Regions from separate parts of the Homo sapiens genome. Here region 1 is linked to region 2. Evidence: promoter capture Hi-C in 16 types of primary human blood cells and fetal thymus (Javierre and others, 2016). All regions are on one chromosome and are shown on one strand. The core of a region is centred on a gene start or on the middle of the fragment in contact, and the rest is flanking DNA. Distances in the headings are between cores, read along the strand shown. Region 1 has its middle 130 kb from the start of GDAP2. Region 2 holds the start of VTCN1 (V-set domain containing T cell activation inhibitor 1).

Region 1 (4,269 bases), core at 1,324-3,823, 590 kb after region 2:
GAGGAATCACTATGTATGGCAGCTATAGCCTTATAAAATGCATTTCATAAATAGTAAGACTTGAAAGTCAAAATTACTCCTTGATCCATGGACTGCAGAATGGATGTTGTGTTAGCCAGCATGAAAACAACATTCATCCCCTTGTATATCTCCATCAGAGATCCTGGGTAACAGGTGCATTGCCAATAAGCAGTAATATTTTTAAAAGAATCTTCTTTTCTGAGGATCAGATCTCAACAGTGGGCTTAAAATATTCAGTAAACCATGCTATAAACAGATGCACTGTCATCCAGGCTTTCTTCTTCCATTTATATAGCCAGCAGGGTAGATTTAGCATAATTCTCAAGGGCCATAGGATTTTCAGAATGGTAAATGAGCGTTGGCTTCAACTTAAAGTCACCAGCTGCATTAGCCCCTAATAAGAGTCAGTCTGTCCTTTGAAGCTTTTAAGGCATTGACTTCTCTCTAGCTATGAAAGTACTAGACGGCATCCTCTTCCAATCGAAGGCTGTATTGTCTACTCTGATAATCTGTTGTTTAGTGCAGCCACCTTCATTATTTATCTTAACTAGATCTTCTGGATTGCTTACTGCAGTTTCTACATCAGCACTTACTGCTTTACCTTGTACTTTTATGTTATGGAGGTGGCTTTTTTCCTTAAACCTCATGAACCAACCTCTACTGGCTTCAATCTCTTCTTCTGCAGCTTTCTCACTTCTCTCAGCCTTCATAGTATTGAAGGGAGTTATGGTCTTTCTCTGGATTAAGCTTTGGCTTAAGGGAATGTTGAGGTTGGTTTGATCTTCTATCCAGACCCCCAAAACATTTTCAATATCAGCAGTAAGGCTGTTTCACTTTCTTATCATTGTGTGTTCCCTGGAGTAGCACTTTTAATTCCCTTCAAGAACTCATGGGCATTTACAACTTGGCTAACTGTTTGCCTTTGGGCAAGAAGTCTAGCTTTTGGGCCATCTCAGCTTTTGACATGCTTTTCTCCCTAAGCTTAATCATTTCTAGCTTTTGATTTAAAATAAGAGATGTATGACTCTTCCTTTCACTTGAGCACTTAAAGGCCATTGTTGAGTTATTAACTAGCCTAATTTCAATATTGCTGTGTCTCAGGGAATAGTGAGGCCTGAAGAAAGGGAGAGAGATGGGGGAGCAGCTGGTCAGTGGAGCAGTCAGAACACACACAACATTTATCCATTAAGTTTGCCTTCTTATATGGGTGCAATTCGTGGCACCCCAAACAATGACAAAGTAACTTCAAAGATCACTGATCACAGATCACCATAACAGATATAATAATAATGAAAAAATTTTAAATATTGCAAGAATTACCAAAGTGTGACACAGAGACACAAAATGAGCACAACCTGTTGAAAAAATGATACCGATAGACTTGCTCAACACAAGGTTGCTACAAACCTTCAATTCGTTTAAAAAAAAAAAAAAAAAACCCAGCCGGGTGCAGTGACTCATGCCTATAGTCTCAGCACTTTGGGAGGCCAAGGGGGGTGGATCACTTGAGGTCAGGAGTTTGATACCAGCCTGGCCAACATAGAGAAACCCTGTCTCTACTAAAAATACAAAAATTAGCTGGGTGTGGTGGTGTGCCTGTAATCCCAGCTACTGGAAAGGCTGAGGTGGGAGAATCACTTGAACCTGGGAGGAGGAGGTTGCAGTGAGCTAATATTGTGCCACTGCACTCCAGCCTAGGTGACAGAGTGGGACTCTGTCTTAAAAAAAAAAAAGAAAAAAACCAACAAACCATAATATCTGCAGGTACAATAAAGTGAAGTGCAATAAAATGACATATGCCTGTATTCTTAGCAGATTCTGCTCCTCTTGTAAAATATCAGATTGATACACCGAGACCTATAATGTGTTAGAGTAAATGTGCATGAAGCTTAGCTGAAATACCAGAAAAGCTAATAATCTACAGTAGAAGATTGTCCATTTTTTAAAAAGTATGATAGATTATGGCCTTTGTTCCATAGAGGTAGGTTCAAACTTGTGGAGTTAACTAAATCAAATGATAAAAATCAGAGCTCATCAGTTAATGCAAGTTTTGGGTGGTGCTACTGGAAAAATACATTCTGATCATTTAATTTCATATTTTAATCAAATAGCCTACATAAATATATGCTAATGGGTCAAGATAATGGCCTTAGAACTTTAGAGCTGAATAAATCAGGCCTCTCAGGCATGGACTTAAATCTGTATTTCAATGAACTCTTTCAACCAGAACTATGCCTTGAACTATGACCCTAAATGTATTCTCACTACTGCCTGACAAAACTGGGCCTGTGACCTTCTCCAAGTATCTATCATGCATAGGTATTTCAGAGGCAATAAGTTTATGATAATATTTAAATTTCATCAGTTCTTGGGTCATGAAAGGGGAACATTCTACCTCATTCTCTGTTACTATTCAGCATGTCTTCTAGGTAGAGTTTTTTTATTTGTTTGTTTTTCCTTTGGTGTCCTAATATTCTTGTCAAATCAGAGACTGAGGGATTAAGAAGAGACTGAGGTATTAAGACACACATACCCAAGAATGGAACAGACAAAGCTGGAACCAGTTTATCAATAGATCCTTTGTAAGAGGAAAAAGAAAATGACTCTCTTCTGAGATCAGAGAATGAAAATCAAATAATTAAGCAGTGAGGAAGACTATGGTTCACTCTACAAATATTGGAAATTATATTAAGATGGTATATGTATAGGCAACTTTTATGTCCTTAGAAATGTATTTTGCCTGTGACATCCAAGCCAGCTGCAGTGGTGGGCAAAGCAGCCTCACTACATTCTTTGTATGTCAGATCCCTCTCAAGTTGAGGTCTTGGCCCCAATTAAATCAGTTCTGAGCTTTTTATAAATCAAGTCCTTCATAAATCTTGCAGTAACATTTCATTCTCTTTGCTCTCCTGCCTCTTACTGAGGGTAGCTTCAGGCATTTCCAGACCTTCCTGTTCAGCTGAGCCCTCTTGAGGAGATGTGTACAATTCTTCCTTTTGTTTCCCTCTATTTACGAAAAATACTCGCTTCCTCCAGGACATCTGTGTAGCATCTCTACCCGAGGGGAAACCCTTGTCTTCCACCCACACTCAGGGCTGCAAGGGATAGGTTCACAGCAGGACAACTGGTTGATTAGTCATGTAATTCAAAATTACTAGGTACTCAAACTTAGACTAGTGAAATACAAAATGTGCTCTCGTGTTTGGTAGTATTATATAAGCTTATATTATCATAGAATTTAGATTCTTGTAGAATGGCATAAGCCACAGAGAAGCAGGGGACTTAGAAATCAAAAGCCACTTGGCCTATTTGAAATGATCATGTGACACTAATAAGGCCCACCAGTGCAGAAAGGAGTAGCTGGCAGAGTTCTGCAGGGATGAGCTTGTGCGTACTCTCACCTAGTGGCATCAAATGCTGCTCCTCACACAGAGGCTAAACTGGATAGATGTTTATTTCAAAGCCAAGAGCCCTCAAATAGACCGTCCACATGGCAAGCCTGTGATTTCCTCTCCTGGAATATGAAGTGGCTTCTTTTCAAACATTTATGAGAAACATAAAATTTTAGTTTGCTTTCTCAAGTGAATAATAATTACTCTGGATGGGAAGGATTCATCCAGAGACATAAAAACATCCCCAGTCACTACTAATTAAAAGAAATCTACTAAGACATATATCACTTTGGCTAGAAAGCAATAGCATTCCTTATTCTAACTATATCACAGGGCTTGCCAAGTCTCAGTGAAAAGGGGAATTAATTTGACCCAGAAAGGCTTACTCAGAGAGGCATCCACCAGTCCTACGCTGTTGTCAGACTAACAAAAACAGTGTGGAAGAACAAGAGTTAGGGTAAGAATGATCTAAGAGAGGTTTCCTGAAGCCAGCACTATATCAGGCTGAAGGCAGTGAGATTCATCCAACAAGAGTTCAAGATTTTGAAAACTGGCACACACAGAAGCCTAAGCAGTGACACAGTAAGTAGGAAACAGGGGATGACCACAATATTTTGGTCAATTCATATAAAGGGTCCATTGGATGATATGTGATATGTCTTATTGACAAAGGTCAGGCTGGACTAAGGTATAGAGCAAATATGTCCTTACTCAAACCTCCTCAGAAGTAGAAACAAGGCTGGGCATGGTGGCTCATGCCTGTAATCCCAGCACTTTGGGAAGCCAAGGCGGTTGGATCACCTGAGTTCAGGAGTTCGAGACCAGCCTGGGCAACATGGTGAAACCCTGTCTCTAC
Region 2 (4,416 bases), core at 321-2,820:
TGGGATCAAGGCTGGAGGAATGGTGGGCATGGAGAACTGGGACTGGCAGGAGCAGGGGCAAGGGTGGCAGGGGGAGAGAGCTTGGGATTTCAGAGCAAGATCCCCTCATGCACAGTTTCACAGTCATCTGGCCTTAACTTCTCTGAGGTGATAACGAGTCTTCACAAGGCAGTGGTGGACACGCTGCTCTAAGACACCTAGTGCAGGGCAGGGAAGGAGTCACTCACAAAATGCTAGCTCCTCTGACATAGGTGCTTCTTAGGGACATCCTCTCAGGGCAGAAGGGTCTAGAGGGAAGCCCCTGCCACCCACTGCTTCTCCTGGAGCACAGTGCTGTAGCCAGGCACAGGGGTGGGGGCAGAAGTGCCGCTGCAGCCACCCCCACCAGCCCTGCAGAGTCCTTCACCTCTGCTACCCGGCAGGTGATTTCAGATAAACGTGAGTCGAGTCAGGGGAGCTGATATTTTGTTTCAAGGAAAAGAACTTTCTAGGCTGCCTCTGGGAAGTAACATTACTCTCGTAGTCTCTTCACAAACTTTTCACTGTTGACCTGAGGATTCCTTTCCTCTCTCCTTCCCTCTCTTCTTTTCTTCCTTTTGTGGGAAAAAGAAACAAATTGGAGGACTGGTCCTTCAAACAACCTCTAGAACCAACAAGTATCAGCCTCCCTAAACACTGTCCTGAGTTGTGACTGACACTGAATCAATCATTTCAAGAAAACCCTGCACTTTCCATCTCTTTCCTTCCAGGAGGGTAAATGCTGTTCTGAGGGAAAAAGAGGCAACTAGAATGTAGCTCAGGGGAGAAGCAAAAGGTAGGGGAGGGAACTTGCTTCCTTCTTCCTCTCTGGGGAGTTCAGCAGCAGCAGCAGCAGCAGCAGCAGCAGCAAGTTCTCCTCTCCAAGGAGCTCCTAGGAAAACTAGGGACCCAACCTTTGAGCTGGGGGGGCCTGGGGAGGGGTGTTGGTGTGAATTGCTCAAGAGTAGCAAGAAATCACACCCACAGAGAATGAAAGCACATTCTCCTCCGTCCCCCTGGGGGCTGCATAAAGGGTCCTCCTGCATCCCCTCCACTGTCGCAGTCATGGATTCCCTGCCATCCCACCATGCAACCCACACCAGCCTGCTCAGTGTCCCCATGGTGCTCACAGCCTTGACATCTCAGGGGAATGCCCAGCTTGGCACGTACTCCCCTCAGTCCAAGCTGCCCAGCAAGCGCCAGCCCTCCATGGCAGGCCACCAACCAAAAACCTCCCTAACCCTGAACAGGTGCCTTGAGCAGCTGAGGTGGGATGTTAAGTCAAATCCAGTTAGGCTCTTGTCTGGCCAGGCTCCCGCTGGCCCAATGCTGGATCAGATAAAATTACAGGTGGGGTCCTATGGGACAGCCCAGCAGTGCTCAGCATCCCCAAAAGACCTCACTGCTGTTCCCTTCACCCATAAGGATAGAGAGAAGAGTATATACTACCTCCAGAAGAGGATCTGCCCCAGGGAAGCCATGGCTGGGGAAGGTTCCCAGCGTATCTGGGTACTGGCTGAGTGGAGCTGCCGCTGCCTTCCTTGGTGACTCACAACCAGCTCCCGTGTATTGGCCTTAAATAGTGTGTTGAGGCCGGGAGTGGTGCGTGCAGCTGTAGACGGCTCAGGTATGAGGAAACTGGCTGTGCAGAATTCCCTGCAGGCACAGTGGCTGCCTGCTCCGGCCAGCCAGCCAAGCCAGGGGCTCAGAGCTGCCTTTCCAAGTCTTGACTTTGGGAGGGTGACGAGGAAAAGCTTCCCTGGCCCTTGCTTCAGGGCCTGCATTCAGCAGGACTTTCCTCCTGACTGTGGAAGGGAGCTGTAGGGAGGGAGATTTAATCTCAAAATAAGAAAGGACTGGAATAGCTCAAAGTGTCAGGCTATGCTGGGAGCCTTGGGGCCAGGAGTCCCCATCTCTGCTGGTAGATGACGCTCAAACAGAGGCTGGGTCACCATTGGTCAGGTCTCTCGTGGAGGAGACTCATGCTGGGGGACCTCAGGAAGGCCATGAGCTGAAGTGACAAGACCACTGAGTTTGTCACTCAAGACTGAACTTGCCTAGGTCTCCTGAGATGCCCAGCTGGGTGTGCAATTCTCTTCCAGCTTCATTTCAGTGGGAGCAGGAGAGGGCCAGCACTTCCCACCTTGCAATTTTTTTGAGACTCCAAAAAGACACTGAATGTGCTCTGCTTCAACTGCCCCTCTCTCTGGAGATCCCAATACTCAGAAGCTATTGCTGTCAAAGGTGAGTGGGTTAGCAAAAATCTCTGACATTTCATCCAGCAGATTGCCAACTAGGCAAGATTCTCGTTAAAGCCTAAACGTTGCTCTCTCTCTCTCTTATTCTCTCTCTCTCTCCTTATTGTTTCCTCCAGCCCCCAGAAGTACCTTGGATGGGAAAGTTTCATGACTGGTTGCCTGGCTTACTGCTGCTGCTGACTGACTATGTTTGCAGTGAAGGTGCTCCAGGCCTTCAGCAGCATCCTCCTAGTGTTTGCGTATGGGCAGGTGGAGCAACCATTGAGTAAAGATGGAGCAGAGAGAACTGAGTGGTGAAAATAAGGCAGCAGGAGAGGGCAAGGTCACAGTGGAAAGACCTTTAGAGTCAAACAGCTAGGTTCAATTCCTGGGTTCCTAATTAATCATGTGGCTTTGAGAACATCACTTTACTTCAATGTGTGTCTCACTGGGTTGCAGTGAGGGATAAATGAGAGGCGGGTCTATGTGCTTTCCCTTCCCCAGAATAAGTAAAGGGTGATGCCCTGGAATCTATGCAGTGCCAGTGCTGAATGGTCACTTCCCGGGTCTGGGGAAGCTGAGGGCAGTGGGAGCAGTGGTTTCTGTAATTCCAACCAAAGGCACAGGGATTCTGCCCTACCCCTCAATGAGCCTTAAGAAGAGCAGCTTCAGCTGGGCACAGTGGCTCAAGCTTATAATCCCAATATTTTGGGAGGCCAAGGTAGGAGGAATTTTTTTTTTTTGAGACTGAGTCTCGCTCTGTTGTCCAGGCTGGAGTGCAATGGTACAATCTTGGCTCTGTAACTGTAACCTCTGCCTCCTGGGTTCAAGCGATTCTCCTGCCTCAGCATCCCAAGTAGATGGGATTATAGGTGCACCACCGCACTCAGCTAATTTTTGTATTTTTAGTAGAGACGGGGTTTCTCCATATTGGCCAAGCTGGTCTCGAACTCCCAACCTCAAGTGATCCACCCACCTCGACTTCCCCAAGTACTGGAATTACAGGCATGAGCCACTGCGCCTGGCTGGTAGGAGGAATTCTTGAGCCTAGCAGTTCGAAACTAGCCTGAGCAGCATACTGAGACTTCGTCTCTACAAAATTTAAAAAAAAAAAAAAAGAATCCATCTAGTAACAGGAAAACAAACAAAAAATTAGCTGGGCATATAGTCCCAGCTGCTCAGGAGGCTGGGGTGGGAGGATCACTTGAGTGGGGCTTGAAGCTGCAGTGAGCCATGATCGTGCCAGTATACTCCACGATGGGCAACAAAGCAAGATGCTGTCTTAAAAAAAAAACAAAAAAGCAGCCCCACCTCAAACACCCTGGGGCAGAGCCATGGAGTTTCTCTCTTCTAGCCATGCATCATCACTAAAGGGACAGCTAAGGATGACCCTGGAGGGAAAATCAAGACAACCCAGCAGAGACACCTCCGAGTGAGAGGGAAAATGTAGCTGAAGTGGCCCACCTGTTAGAGGGCAGGCATTACCTGGCAGGGATGTGGAGCTGAAAAGCATTCTGCTGCCTCTGGAGAAGCAAATGGACAGTACTCTGGTTCTGACTCCAAAACTTGAAGAATATCACACACAAAATAATGAGGGAAATCATTACAAAGCAACAGCCCAAAAGTGTGTGTGTGCGCATGTGCACGCGCGTGCACGTGTAAAGAGAGAGTCTTGGAAACATTGAACTCTCCAGCATTTGAAAGCCTCTCTTGGCTCCCCTGACACTGTTCTCTGAGACTCTCACTAATGCCCCTCACTGTCTTGTGCCCAGGCCCTTTTCCTTCGCCTCTCCCATAAGTGATAGGGGTCCCTGTGGTCCTGTCCTCTGCCTTTTCTTCTCATAGCACACATGTGCCCTGGGCAACCTTGACCACTGCTCTGCTTCGACTGCTCTGGAGATCACAATATCTGCATCCTCAGCTCCCTTCCCTTGACCAAGCCCCAACCCCACATACCCAGCTGCTTAGTGGACATCTCCAATCGGCTGTCTAGAAGGCACCATCTCCCATCTCTAACCCGGCTGCTCCCCCTAGGTCACATCTTTTGGAACACAACAGCATCCCACACTAGGCTGCCACAGTCAGAAACCTCAAAGTCACCCTTTATTCCGCCTGCCTGGCTCCCTACATCCCTGATTCCTCCTCCTTGGGTTAGTCTACT

What was found. Contacts are between HindIII fragments. The CHiCAGO score rates a contact against its expected background, and 5 or more counts as called.
Region 1: a contact is called between a fragment that was not itself captured here and the fragment with the promoter of VTCN1 in region 2, in 2 of 17 cell types (erythroblasts and total B cells). The highest score is 5.2, in erythroblasts.

Annotation. Positions count from the first base shown.
Region 1 is chr1:117,799,703-117,803,971 of GRCh38, forward strand. No RefSeq gene overlaps it. Among named protein-coding and RNA genes, the nearest start is that of GDAP2, 130 kb to the right of the region's middle. The HindIII fragment of the contact is 1,332 bases long and covers 1,908-3,239 here.
Region 2 is chr1:117,209,357-117,213,772 of GRCh38, forward strand. VTCN1 (V-set domain containing T cell activation inhibitor 1) reads right to left here and starts at 1,571. Exons shown (of 6, transcript NM_024626.4): 1 at 1,468-1,571. The coding sequence starts at 1,499. The HindIII fragment of the contact is 4,073 bases long and covers 1-1,770 here.